Regions from separate parts of the Homo sapiens genome. Here all the other regions are linked to region 3. Evidence: promoter capture Hi-C in 16 types of primary human blood cells and fetal thymus (Javierre and others, 2016). All regions are on one chromosome and are shown on one strand. The core of a region is centred on a gene start or on the middle of the fragment in contact, and the rest is flanking DNA. Distances in the headings are between cores, read along the strand shown.

Region 1 (4,887 bases), core at 651-3,150, 2.0 Mb before region 3:
AGAGAAGATCGAGGGTGCAGGAGGAGATAACTGGAGGAAGGAAGTCCTCCTTCATTCAACCAACACCAAGAGCTTCCCATGCCAGGCATCGTTTGGGTGTGAGCCACAGAGCACCAAGTGGCCTGGGCAAGGCTGCCTCTCTCAAGAGCGCCTGTGCTGGAGTGAGTTCAGGTCGGGGAGCAGGGTGCTTGGGGTGTGACAAGACAGATGTAGCTGTGAGTCTACCTGTGCATTTGGAGATGAGAAGAGAATTGCGCTCCCCTCTGATATGTGTATTTACTCAGCTCCATGTGGGGCAGGTCATGCATTCACCATGGGAGATGTGAAGAGAGAGATGCTGCCGGGGAAAGTCAACTCACAATGGAAATGGACAGAGTAGCTAAGCAGTGCCCATTAGAGGTTTGTGGCCATGAACTTAAAGTGAAACCAGTCAGCCCGACAGTGTGACTTTTCCTGTTGTGGTCAGCTGTGCATCCAAGTCAATACTAGAATCAGCCAAGGTTGAGGTTTTGCAGGATAAGTATGACTTAGAGAAGAGAGAAGCAAGGGGTTGAGGAATTCTGCCAGGGAGAGGTTGTAATGAGGCAACTTGCAGTCTGAGCTGAGTAAGGAGGGCAACAATGAGGGAAGGAATGACAGAAAACGCACAGGCAGGGACGTCAGTGAATGAGAGCCCTTGGGCTAGAGTCCTAGAGCACAAGAGAGCTGGGAGGATGTCTGAGATCGATAATTTAAAGGTGGCTGAGATGCTTGTTATGACAAGGTCTACGGTGTGACCATGAGACTAGAGTGGCTCAGGTGGGAAACAGGATAAGGCACTGAGTTCAGTTGAATGGTGGGCTCCAAAAAGATATGTCAGTGTCCTGGAACTTGCGACCCTGTGACTATAATTTTATTTGGAAAAAGAGTCTTGGCAGATATAATTCAATTAAAGATCAATGGATGAGATCATCCTGGATTAGCCATGTGGGCCCTAAATCCAGTAAGTGTCCTTGTAATAGAAAGAAGGGGAGACAGACACACAGACACAGGAGAAGACCAAGTGAAGAGATTGGAGTTACACAGTCACAGGCCAAGGAACCACCAGAAGCTGGAAGAGGCCAGGAAGAGTTCGCCCAAAGCCTCCAGAGGCACTGTGGCCCTGTCCATGCCTTGATTTTGGATTTCCAGCCTCTAGATCTGTGAGATAATCAATTTCTGTTATGCTAAGCCACCGATTTGAAGCAATTTGTTTCAGCGGCCCTAGGGAACTGCTACTGAGACTTAGAAGCTCTAGTGTTGGTCAGCTCCTCCATACGGATGTAAAAATCAGAGGAAATGTGGAGGAGAAGGTAGTGAGGCAGAACTAGAGTTTTTAATGAATGGGATAATCAGAGGTTGGTAAGGACCATCATGAGGAAAGGCAGGATGTGGTGGAGCTGAATGGCACAGCTTCACATAAGCTGTGGGTTCTAGAGAAAAAAGAGAGAGATGTAATTTGGAAATGGCAGTAGGGGTGGGGGCTCCAAGGTGACCAGAGTCCCAGGGAACAGTTGGCCTTCAGTCCACACAGACACCAGGGCCAAGCAAGGAAGGGGCCGAAGAGGTGGGAGCATGCGGACCACAGCAGGGCTGGGTGTGGTGAGAAGGGGCTATGCTCCACGGGGTGGGGGCATGGAGAGAGCAGAGCGGAGCAGGGTGTGGGGACAGCTGGATGGAAGCTATAGGACCTCTCCTGGGACCCCGCCAGTAGGCACGTGAGGCCTGCTGCACCCAGTTCTTCTGTCCTGAGAGGGCTGCGGGCCATGTGCAGGAGCTGTGCTTCCTGGCACTAAGCTTGATTGTTGGCCTTTGAAGACTGCTCCCTCTGACAGCTGATGACGCCTTTTGGGCCACCACAGGCTTTCCCGGCACACCTGCATGCGGGTGCCTCGGGACTGCTCCAGCTCACAGCTGTCTTTACAGCTTCCAATACTGCCCTAAGGGCAGAGCTAAACTAAAGCTTTGGAGCTCGTTTGTCTAGATTGATGCCCAGATTATATCTCAGGATTTATATTAATGCATGTCTAACAATAAGCAATCTGTTAAATAAATTACAATACATTCATATGATGGGAGGCTATGCGACCATTACAAATTATGCGGTTGAAAACCACGGGAAAATGCTCACAACAGATAGTGTCTTGGTTTGTTTGGGCAGCTGCCATGACACCGTGCCATAAACATGGGGGCTTATAAACAAATTTATTTTTCACAGTTTTGGAAGGGGTGGGGGCCAAGATCAAGGTGTCGGCTGATTCAGTGTCTAGTGAGGACCTTTTTCCTGGTTCACAGGTGACACCTTCTCCCTGTGTCCTCACCTGGTAGAAGGGGCCAGGGGTTCTCCAGGGCCTCCTCTCGAGGGACACTAAACCCATGCTTGAGAGCTCTGCCCTCATGACCTAATCACCGCCCAGTAGCACCCACTCCTAATACCACCACCTTGGGGGTTAGGTTTCAACATATGAATGTGGCGGGGACGCAAACATTCTGACTATAGCAGGTAGTTAAGTGCAAAAATCCTACCAGATGATCCCAACCCAGCTAACTAATGAACAAACGTTTATCCACAGGCATACAGACACCTGGAAATAGACTATACATGAAAAGAACAACAGTCCTGTGTGGATACGAGTAAGGGAAATCTGTATGTTCCTCCTACTTTACTGTATTTTCCAAAAGGATGATGAATGTCTGTCACTTTCATGATCTGAAGAAAAAAAGGAAGAAAATTGGTCCTAACGCACTTCTCAAATACTTGTTTCCCCTCTCTCTGATAGGAGTATTTGGAGAGATTCTCATGGTTGCCTCTGGCTCCCAGTAGGTGTGAGACCCCATTCCCCTCCAGCTCAGCCTTCTCATCTCCCAGCTCCCTTCCCACTCCTGCGCTCTGCCCTGCTCAAGGCAGGTGCCTCTCCAATGTGAGCCCTAACTGTCCCTGCAACACCGAATCCAAGGATCTGGGCTTGGAATGACTGTGTGCTCATCTGGCCCAACCTGGGTCAGTGAATCATTTCTACAATGTCCTAGACGAGTGACCTCCTGGACAAGGTCTGTTGCCTTTTGGGTGTGACACCCACCACGTGTGCAGCTTTTTTTTTTTTTCTTCTAAGACTTCCGGCCTTCACCTGGTGCCTTTAAGGGTGTCCAGGGCACTCTGCCATCATTCCTCTGGCTGCTCCTCAGTGGGTGGCGCAGTGACCCACTGGGCCCTCCCTTCCTTCCCAGCACCCTCCACTCCTCTCCAGCTCCCCCATCTCCTCTTGATCCCTGGCCTCAGATGCCCTTTCTGGCACTTCCCCTGTTCTTGGGTCTCAGCCGGTATTAACTTGTCTTGCTCCCTTGGGTTCATCCTTAGTGTCCGGTTCCTTCTGCTCCATCCTACCCCCCACAGGATGCCCCAGCCTCTCTTGGACTCTTTGGGACTGTCTATTTCACCTCCTCCCTGATTGGTCTTTGGAATCAGAGAGATGACCAGGGAAGATTTGGAGAGAAAACTTCTTTTTTTGTGGGGGGACGGAGTCTCGCTCTGTCGCCCAGGCTGGAGTGCAGTGACGCAGTTTCGGCTCACTGCAAGCTACACCTCCCGGGTTCACGCCATTCTCCTGCCTCAGCCTCCCGTGTAGCTGGGACTACAGGCACCTGCCACCACACCCGGCTTATTTTTTGTATTTTTAGTAGAGATGGGGTTTCACCGTGTTAGTCAACTTCTTATGTTGCTCCAGGAATTTGCATTCAGTTCAAACCGACCTACCTTAAAAACTTTTTAAATCTTAATTGGTTTCAAGCCATTTATAAATATGTTTGCATGTTATCTCTGCTTTTTGTAACTTTTATTTTCAGTTCAGGGATATATGCGTAGGTAGTTATGTAGCTAAACTTGTGTCACAGGAGTTTGTTGTACAGATTATTTTGTCACCCAGGTACTAAGAGTAGTACCCAATAGCTGTTTTTTCTGCTCCTCTCCCTTCTCTCACCCTCCACCCTCAAGTAGGCCCCAGTGTCTCTTGTTCCTCTCTTTGGGTCCATGTGTTCTCATCATTTAGCTCCCACTTAGAAGTGAGAACATGTAGTATTTGGTTTTCTGTTCTTGCGTTAGTTTGCTAAGGATAATGGCTTCCAGCTCCATCTATGTTCCTGCAAAGAACATGATCTCATTCTTTGTTATGGCTGCATAGTACGCCACGGTGTATATGTACCGCATTTTCTTTATCCAGCCTGTCATTGATAGACATTTAGGTTGATTCCATGTCTTTGTTATTGTGAGTAGTGCTGCAATGAACATTCATGTGCAGGTGTCTTTATGGTAGAATGATTTATATTCCTCTGGGTGTATACCCAGGAATGAGATTGTTGATTGAACAGTAGTTCTATTTTTAGCTTTCTGAGGAATCACCACACTGCTTTACACAATGGCTGAACTGATTTACATTCCCACCAACAATGTGTAAGTATTCCCTTTTCTCTGCAACCTTGCCAGCATGTGTTATTTTTTGACCTTTTAATAATAGCCACTCTGACATGTAAGATGGCATCTTATTGTGGTCTTGATTTGCATTTCTCTAATGATCAGTGATGTTGAACTTTGTTTTATATGCTTGTTGGCCACATGTATGTCTTCTTTTGAAAAGTGTCATGTCCTTTGCCCACTTTTTTTCTCTCTCTCTCTCTTTTTTTTTTTTTTTGACAGTCTCACTCTGTTGCCCAGGCTGGAGTGCAGTGGTGTGATCTTGGCTCACTGCAACCTTCACCTCCCAGGTTCAAGAGATTCTCATGCCTCAGCCTCCCAAGTAGCTAGCATTACAGGTGTGTGCCTCCACACCTGGCTAATTTTTGTTTTGTGTGTGTTTGTGTGTGTGTGTGTGTGTG
Region 2 (4,665 bases), core at 377-2,876, 2.1 Mb before region 3:
GGTGACAAAAAAATAAATGACACAAACAGAACCTCTCAAAATCACTCCTGGGGACTGAGTTATCTGCCTTCAGCTCAGAGTCTCAAGGATCAGGATAGCCCTTTGCAGCCGGGCTGTATTTGCAGTAAAGGTGACCCAGGTCAAGCACCCCTGACTCCCTGCCCAGTATGTTTCCCACAGGGAGCTGCCCCAAACTGAAGACATATCCAGGTGGGATCTGCCCAGCACAGAGCAGAGCAAGACCATCACTTTGCTTGCTCCAGGCTCTATCCTTCTATTAATTACCTCTGAGGTCCTGGCACTTTTCTCATATTGACTCATATTGGACATAAATTCATGCCCAGCAACCCTATCCAAGGAGGAATTTTGGTTGGTCTGGTATCATTTATTCTTATGGAACTCAGGATGCTTTTTTTTCTAGGTACTAACAAACCATCCCATTAATATTCCTTCTCTAGCATTACTCTTGATAGGGAGTTCTGTAGTTTTGTAGAAAAGACTGAAGTAGGCCTGGTGTGGTGGCTCACGCCTGTAATCCCAGCACTTTTGGAGGCCAAGGTGGGCAGATCCCTTGAGATCAGGCGCTCGAGACCAGCCTGGTCAACATGGCAAAACCCCGTCACTACTAAAAATACATAAATTAGCCAGGCATGGTGGCGCGTGCCTGTAGTCCCAGCTACTTGGGAGGCTGAGGCAGGAGAATCACTTGAACCCAAGAAGCTGAGGTTGTAGTAAGCTGAGATGGGGCCTCTGTACTCCAGTCTGGGTGACAGAGTGAGGCCCTGTCTTTAAAAAAGAAAAGAAAAGAAAAAAAAAAAGACAAGCAAAACACAAGGCTCTGCCATGCACTGATTATTAAATGCCCAAGTAATAACATGTCTACTCCTTCATTATTCTTTGTCCTGCTCTGACTGTAACAAAAAGCAAAAGCACGCAAACACAAAGCTCTTTTGTTTCGCCCATTGCTTGGCCTCGAGAATTCAAAGTTGACTCTATCTATCTTGAGTATACCCGGAATGTAATCTCCCGGTGCTAACTATGGGTTCCTGATTGCATCCGTGTCCACATCGATGTGCACATCGGTATCAAGTATTGTTTTTCTCTTAAGCAGAGCTCCATTACCACACTTCTCATTTTAACAATTAAATTCAAGGCGGTGTCAAGTTCCTGCTTGCCTCACCAGTTTACCTTGTTTAATTAATGCAGTGGTTTTGACTACAGGGCTGGGATTTAAGAGTTCGGGAGTCTCCGTGGGCGACTGAGCTGGTGGAGGCTGAACAGAGGCCCCCAGGGCCGGGGCGGGAGCAGGGAGGTGGCCGAGGCGGGAGCAGGGAGGTGGCCGAGGCGGACGCGCTGCTAATAATGCCTGCCTCTTCCACACATGCTTTCCTCTCGGTCCCAGATAGTGGATTACTTTTAGACCAACATGTAATTCAGAGAGAACCTCGCAAATGTTCCTCTCTACTGACCAAATCACCCGACCTCTACGATTCCATCCTGCGGTCATAACCACCGACCTGGGGAAATCTCAGACAGCCCCGGCCACGCATGCCAGGCGGAGCCCTAGGGGCTTTCACCCCGCAGGCTCTGCCGGGGCCCGGGCTCCATAGCAACAGGCCCCGCCCCGAGGCGGGAGCCGAGCTGCGCTCAGGCGGAAGAAAAGAAGGCGGGTCCCCTCCACCCAGATGGCGATTGCGCGCCGGTATTCCGAACCTCTGTCTTTCCCCCACCCCCTCTAGGTTTCCTTTTCTAACCTTTTTGTCTCACCAGGAAATAGAACCACTTTGTAAAAGAACTGATTCAAGTGGTGGCGATGTGGGGAAGAGGAGGGAGTAAGGCCCGCGGTGACAGCATTAAAAGCTGGGAGCCCTGGGGATCGCCCCCGCCTGGCCCTCCAGCAACAGGAGTTCTCCCGACTGTGGCCTTTTCCCGTGTCCGGGGTCCACAGCTCTTTGCCTGCTAACCCTGGAGGGTTCTAAGCCGATGCGCCCATGCTGGGGGTGGGACTTTCTCCGAGTAACATGCTTGGGTTTCCATGCTTTGAAACCTGGAGGTGACACTGAAGTAGGAGCCTGGGCACCTTGGCAGAGGGAGCTAATCAGAGGACAGGGGAATCTGACACCATCCTCAGAAGGCTGCCCCTCCAACATGTTACCAGAAGAGTATTTTCCTAAGCAACCTGCCTGGCACTACAACTCAGGGTCACTTTCATCCACGATTAGAATCCTATGATGAAAGTCAGAATGCATCTGCGATTAAGGCACGGGCTCTGGAGACATATCTGGATTTGCTTTATCTGCAGGTTGCTCCTTGCCTGTCTGTTAGCTCGTTTGTAAAATGCTACCTCCTAATGCCATTGTGATGATTAAATGATCCAGTGTGTCACTGTCAGCCCCATGCCTAACACACAGTAAGTCTCAGGTGCGGTAGTGGAGAAGAGGATGGGCTCTAGAGCCAAGAATGGGTTTGGATCCTGGCTCTGCCACTTACAAGTTGTATAACCCTGGGTAAGTAATTTAACCTGTATTCCTCAATTACCTCAAGTGTACGGGGGATGACAAGGGTACTGACTACATAGCGTTGTTAGGAGAAGGAAATGGTTTGTTTAGTCTATGTAAAGAACCTGATCTAGGCCGGGTGCGGTGGCTCACGCCTGTAATCTCAGCACTTTGGGAGGCTGAGACAGGTGGATCACCTGAGCTCAGGAGTTCAAGACTAGCCTGGCCAACATGGTGAAACCCTGTCTCTATTAAAAGTATAAAAATTAGCCGGGCATGGTGGCAGGCGCCTGTAATCCCAGCTATTCAGGAGGCTGAAGCACAAGAATCGCTTGAATCCCAGAGGCGGACGCGCCAGTGAGCAGAGACTGTGTCACCGCACTCCAGCCTGGGGGACAGAGCGAGACTCCATCTCAAAAAAAAAAAAAAAAAACACATGATCCAATGCCTGATGCATCATAAGCAGTCAGAACATAAATTATTACTATCATTATTATGGCCACTACTAGATTTATGAGTTCCTTTAGAAATGACTGATAATTCACTTTTTTTACTCCTGGAGCTGGGCTCATTTAAGGATTCAGTAAGCATTTGTGGGGTTTTTTTGGGCATATGAATAGTTTAATAAAACACTACACTTCATCACCTTTTCATAAGCCAAATAAAATACATCAATAAATGATAGCGAGCAGAATCATGCAAAATCAGAAGAGATATGCCTATACAGTTTTTTTTTTTTTTTTTTTTTTTTGAGACAGAGTCTCACTCTGTTTCCCAGGCTGGAGTGTGGTGGCGCTATCTCAGCTCACAGCAACCTCAGCCTCCTGGGTGCAAGCAATTCTCCTGCCTCAGCCTCCTGAGTAGCTGGGATTACAGGCATGTGCCACCATGTCCAGCTAATTTTTTTGTATTTTTAGTAGAGACGGGGTTTTGGCATGTTGGCCAGGCTGATCTCAAACTCCTGACCTTAAATGATCTGCCTGCCTCGGCCTCCCGAAGTGCTGGGACTACAGGCGTGAGTGACCGCGCCTGGTGCCTAAACACTTTTATCACACCAGGCTGGACACAGCCTCCCTCTGCATCCTCACCCACTTAGCACTGGTGTCTCCCTGCTGTTTTTGACACAGCTGAGAGGCTGCAGTGCTACTTTGTTACTCTTGCTGAGGTCTCACACTAACTCTAGTCCCAGGCCAGTCCCAGGAAGGAAGAGAGTCTGTTCATGCCTACCTGCCACTGGTTCTCATGAGAAAGAAACCTGGACTTTTGTGCTGGTCAGCGGCCTGTGGAAATGAGTCCTCAGTGGCCAGCATCTCTCCCTTAGAGCCAGCAGCCTTCTTAAAAAGATCAGAAGAGAAATGATTCCTTTTGGTCCCCTTCCAGCGTCAGTTTTGCCCTTTGATGTAAGTCATCGTCTCTGGACATGAGAACGGGAGGCCTCACTTCCACATCCTCCTCCAAATGAATGCACTCTAAACAAACATTGATGCGCCTCTCAAGGTTGGCATTGCATCTGGACCAGTGCCAGGAAGCCACAAGGCCACCAGAGGCAGAGGGGAAGAGCAAGGGCGGAAGAATAGAAGTCAAGCAGCAGCAGATGGAATGTGTGCACGGTCAGGTGAGGCCTGACCCGAGGGTGTTGTGAGCCCTTGGTCAGGGTGAGCCCAGTGCCAAGCAGAGCCATCCATGACCTTAGGGCCAATGCTAGGCACCCTGACTCTTCCTTGATAATGTCTCTCATCCTCTATTCTTCCTCCCCCTTTCTCCCACCCTCTTTCCTACTCCCTATCCACTTCATTCAACAGATTTTTAACTTAGCTTCTACTATGTGCTAGGCACTGTGTTAGGAGCCACAGATAGTCACTATCCTTAAGGAATGTACACATTCTCATAACAGAGACAGATACTAAATCTCAAATAATAAACTAAATTAAATTACTTGAAATAGAAGTTAATTAAGCTTCAGACAATTAACAATTTTTATCTGTGGCCTCTACTTCAGACCCACCTAGGAAATACAGGCATGTTGGTGTTCTGTGGTGGATAAGAATCCAGGCTCTGGAATCAGACAAATGTGGGTACAAATCCCAGCTCTGATACTGCCCAACAGTGTGATTTTGGCCAAATTACACCACCTCTCTTACCCTCCTTTTCTTCATCTGTAAAAAGT
Region 3 (4,844 bases), core at 999-3,498:
CTGTAATCCCAGCTACTTGGGAGGCTGAGGCATGAGAATCCCTTGAACCCAGGAGGAGGAGGTTGCAGTGAGCAGAGATGGCGCCACTGCACTCCAGCCCGGACGATAAGAGACTCAATCTCCCAAAAACAAAAAACTCCCACAAAATATTCCAACTGGATAGTTAGCCAGACACATCTGAAATATTTTCATTTCATCCTCACAATTCAATAAAATGACACTCTTATCTGCACTTTACAAATAAAGAAACCGAGGCTTAGAAAACAAGTTACTTTCCAACGAGAACACAATAGGCAAATGGAGCCCAGATTTTAACCTCACTCCAGAGGCTCTGCCACAATTATGCTCTACTGCCACAGTTAATCAACATTCACTCAATTCTGAGGTCAAAAAACATCCTTAAGACAGGCAAAACCGCCCACCTGCACCTAAACGTTCCTCAAAAAACCACTAATCTATGCAGCAAGAAAATCTGACTTTGATGATACACCACTATTAAATCTTAGATTTAAATAGTAAGTAAAATATGGTGTGGCAACCCCAGAGTTAGCACTCAACAACGGCAAGAAAACAAAAATTTAAAATGAACTTTGTGGACATTTCACTGGTCTCAATAAATAAATAAAATGAACTTGCTCCTTCCAGTCATCAAACCATGCTATCCTTGGTCAAACACCCATAGCACAACCACTCTAAGGAACTTTGGGTCTCACCTGCCATTTTTTGACCATGGAACACATTTTGTCACGGGTAAGATCCATGCCATGGAAGTTAGTCAGGCAGTTTTTACCCTGAACATCTTCAGTAATCAGCTTGAATTTTCTAAATGCAACTTCATCATTCTGCAAATCAGCAAGACTCACTTCAAACACACGACCCTTGAGACCATCAGATGCAATTTCTACAAAAGAAAAAAACAAGTATCTTAACATTTAGGAACCATATAAGCAAAGTCAAGCCTGTAAACTGAGGGTAGAAATTAAGTTAATGGTAAATTATAAAGACCTTAACCTTTGTTATCAAATCTATCCAGACACCAGTGACTTATCAACAGTACTTATTTGAAGCTCAGAACTACCCATGGCACATTTTCTTAATTCAAAAAGCACCATCTTGCTTCTCTCCAAGTGCTGTACTAAAAATGATCACCACAGGTGCCAAGGCTGCAACCAAGAGCTGACATTTCCTTAAAGTCTCCCACCACAGGACCAACAACAGACCAAGATGCCTGCTACAATATACAAGCGCCAACTTAAGGAAAATACAAACCAAGAATAAGCTACTTACTGGTTCCTTGGGTCCTGGTGACGAGCGTCTTTCCAATATTTCTTATATTGAACATAGCAGGTGCTTTCACATCATACCAATCTTTCTTAGAAAATGGATCAACCCTGGATTTTAAGAAGATGCTTAAGTTCCATTGCAGATCAATTCTTACTGTATTTTTCACTGTTAATGGTATTTCCCATTAATATTTTAAAAAGCTAACCGGCAATTTGATACCAAAGTATATCTCACAGTGAGGTGAGGGGAACAAACATAAATCTAGCTCTTCCCACTGTACGTTTCACTGCATGCATCAGACTTTGAAAGGTTATGTCCACTTCCCACCCTCATCGGTCCATCCACTACACAGGCACTTAGAATAACATGCATCGGTCCTTCCACTACACAGGCACGAGTAACATGCAATCTCATTAACTTTGCTGGCACGTAATGGCATGTACTGGTAACTAAGAGACTGCATGGCCCCAAAGCTTAGCAGGAGCTCGCAGATTCCAGCGGGACCAAGCAAAGGCGAGATTGACGGGTCCTGAATGGATAGAAGGGTGCTTTCCTCAACTCCTGCTGTCGCAGTGCCATCAAACACTCGCAGAATTGAGGCAGCTCGTGAGCCCACAAAACTAACATTCCAGCCGAGTCGCGCCGGCAAGCCGGCTCAAACGCGACGCGCGCAAGGACCAGAAGGCCTGGGAAAGGCAGCCGACCTGCCGCTACTCAACACCGACCCTCCAGGCCGCGTTCCTGGGTGCACCAACCCGCCACGGCCCGCACAATCCGACTGGAATCCTCGCCATCCGGCCTACGCCGCGATCTAGGACCAGCCCGCCGATTCCAGCAGACCCCCAAAAAGCAAGACGCCACGACAGTCGCGACTTACACTTTCTTCTTGGCTCCCTTTTTGCCGCCTTTCGTAAGGCGCTTGTTCTTGCCAACCGCCATGGTGCTGGTCAGAGAGCCAAAAGGGCGGAAGTGGGAGTCGCGCGAGAACTTAGGCGTACGGGGGCGGGGCGCGCCGTCTACGTGACCTTTGCCCTGTTATTCTTCCGGCCTCAAGAATTCCGGGACAGTAGAGAGCGCCACTCTTTCTACTGTGGTTGCGACATCGCCATCGTGTGTGGGGAGGCCGCGCGGCATGCCGCGGGCTCACTGGAGGCTGCGCTGTGTAGACCAAGGCGTCGGTGGCCTGACGTGCAGGCGTCTGGTTACCTGTGGTTTCTGTGGCTGTGACGTCGGGAAGTAAGTTTCTGTAAAACGAGACGCCCACTCAACATCGTTCAAAGCTGAACTCACCGTCTAACCCCCAAACCTGCTTTTTGAGAGCATTGGCTTTGGAGTCAGTCAGCGGATCTGATTCAAATGCCGGTTTCAACAGGGCTTTGCTTGAGACCGACCTCTCCACGCTTGTTTCCTCATGCGTAATATGGGGGTGATAAAACGGTCGGCTTCATGAGGTTTCATAGGGCTAAATGAGCATCACTCCAGAGATGCTAGCGACGTTCTGCTTGTTGATGTGGATGCTGGTTCATCTCAGGTGTTGTTGCTTTGTGAACATTCACTAAGCTCTACGCTTATTTGTGTCCTTTTCTATATGTCTGTTATATATTGATTAAAAGGTTTTTTTAAAATAGAGTGAGACCGAACTCGTTGGCTCACACCTGTAATCCCAGCACTTTAAGAGGCTGAGGCAGGGGAATCAACTGAAGCCAGGAATTGGAGACTAGCCTGGGCCACACAGCCAGACCCCGTCTTTACAAGAAAATGATAAAATTAGCAGGGCGTTGGCCGGGCGCGGTGGCTCACGCCTGTAATCCCAGCACTTTGGGAGGCTGAGGCGGGCGGATCGCCTGAGCTCAGGAGTTCGAGACCAGCCTGGCCAACATAGTGAAACCCCGTCTCTACTAAACATACAAAAAATTAGCCGGGTGGGTGCCTGTAATCCCAGCTACTCGGGAGGCTGAGGCACGAGAATCTGAGCTCAGGAGGCGGAAGTTGCAGTGAGCCGAGATCGCGCCATTGCCTGGCCAACAAGAGTGAAACTGCGTCAAAAAAAAAAAAGTGAGATCTCCAAATGTTTCCATTTTTGCAACTAATCCAAACCCGCCTCCCCCATTTTTTTTAACTGTAGGGGTTAACAGAGCACATCCTGGCAAGGTGTGGCTGGCTAGCTCAAGTGTGCAGCCCTCGGAAAGCATCTGGCCCATACAGGCTTGGTACTCAGCCAGTGGTGTGTTGAGTTCCCTTCTCTAACTTCCCCTCTGGCAGAAAACCCTGTGACCAAGCCAAAACCAACCCTTACTTACAAGGCCCCCTGCAAGCTTTTAAACTTACAATCCCTTCCAGTCCTGCTAGCCTCCATCCCCTACCTCCCACTACACCCACCCCCCAAGACAACCTTCCTAAACCTCTAGTAGGGTCCTGAAATCTTTCAGTAATTCCATAAATCTCAGTTGCCTGGAGGATAAATTCAAAGTCTTAGTTTCATAATAGTATGAATGTACTTAACACTACTGAACTCTACACTTAAAAAAGGTTAAGGTAGCCCTGCCAGGTGTCTCAGGCCGCTAGTTCCAGGTATTCGGAAGGCAGAGGCAGGAGGATCACTTGAGGCTAGGAGTAGGACTCCAGCCTGGGCAACATAGTGAGACCCCATCTCTTTTTTAAAAAGATGATTAAGATGGTTAATTTGGCCAGGTGGTGGCTCATGCCTGTAATCTCAGCACTTTAAGAGGCCAAGGCAGGAGGTTTTCTTGAGCTCAGGAGTTTGATACCAGCCTGGGCAACATTACAAGACCTAATCTCAACTAAAAATAAAAAAAAATTAGCCCGGCTTGATAGCTCATGCCTGTAGTCCCAACTACTCGGAAGGCTGAGGTAGGAGGATCCCCAGCACTTTGGGAGGCCAAGGCAGATGGATCACTTGAGGCCAGGAGTTCGAGACCAGCCTGGACAACATGGTGAAACCCCGTCTCTACTAAAAATACAAAAATTAGCTGGGCGTGGTAGTGCACACCTGTAGTCTCAGCTACTCGGGAGGCTGAGGTACGAGAATCGCTTGAACCTGGGAAGTGGAGGCTGCAGTGAGCCGAAATCACACCACTGCACTCCAGCCTGGGCTGGACAGAGTGAAACTCCATCTAAAAAAAAAAAATATATATATATATATATATATGTATGTATATGTATATATTATGGGCCCCCAGTCTGCCTACTCCAGCATAAAAACCAAACTTACCTTCTTCCTGGTCTGATTCCTCTTTCTGCCCAAGAGTGAAAGCCACAGGGAGAGACCTTAATGAAGTCAGCTGCATCTAATTTATTTTAGCAGCACCAGCACCTAAGGGATTTGTCAGAGGTCTGTATTTCAATCCTCAACTTTGTTTTGTAGTAAAAGCTTTAAAAATTTTCTATTAATATTTTTCTGACCCTTTACATTAAATGGTGCAATCAGCAGTTTTAATGTAATTGTGTTGAATAAAAGTTAGGGGGTGTGAAATTAGTTTATTGGGTCTCAACCATCATTTAATATTTTCAGATAGAATAAAATGGAACAGGCCAGGCAC

The links. The method cuts DNA at HindIII sites, captures the fragments that hold promoters and counts their contacts. A CHiCAGO score of 5 or more calls a contact.
Region 1: a contact is called between a fragment that was not itself captured here and the fragment with the promoter of RPS3A in region 3, in 5 of 17 cell types (fetal thymus, naive CD4 T cells, naive CD8 T cells and 2 more). The highest score is 11.2, in fetal thymus.
Region 2: a fragment that was not itself captured here is called in contact with the fragment with the promoter of RPS3A in region 3 in 1 of 17 cell types (non-activated CD4 T cells); the score reaches 7.3 in non-activated CD4 T cells.

The regions. Positions count from the first base shown.
Region 1 is chr4:153,109,152-153,114,038 of GRCh38, reverse strand. No RefSeq gene overlaps it. Among named protein-coding and RNA genes, the nearest start is that of TRIM2, 93 kb to the left of the region's middle. RefSeq lists an enhancer at 1,269-1,768. The HindIII fragment of the contact is 166 bases long and covers 1,818-1,983 here.
Region 2 is chr4:153,246,262-153,250,926 of GRCh38, reverse strand. The region is part of intron 1 of TRIM2 (tripartite motif containing 2); the gene reads right to left. LOC105377496 (a long non-coding RNA gene) reads left to right here and starts at 2,388. Exons shown (of 3, transcript XR_939360.4): 1 at 2,388-2,507; 2 at 3,879-4,113. RefSeq lists an enhancer at 1,196-1,245. The HindIII fragment of the contact is 5,663 bases long and covers 1-4,457 here.
Region 3 is chr4:151,097,032-151,101,875 of GRCh38, reverse strand. It overlaps RPS3A (ribosomal protein S3A), which reads right to left and starts at 2,248. Exons shown (of 6, transcript NM_001006.5): 1 at 2,162-2,248; 2 at 1,288-1,391; 3 at 714-901. The coding sequence starts at 2,223. RefSeq lists enhancers at 1,325-1,908, 1,929-2,488, 1,909-2,493, 1,792-2,991, 3,269-3,338. The HindIII fragment of the contact is 1,842 bases long and covers 1,760-3,601 here.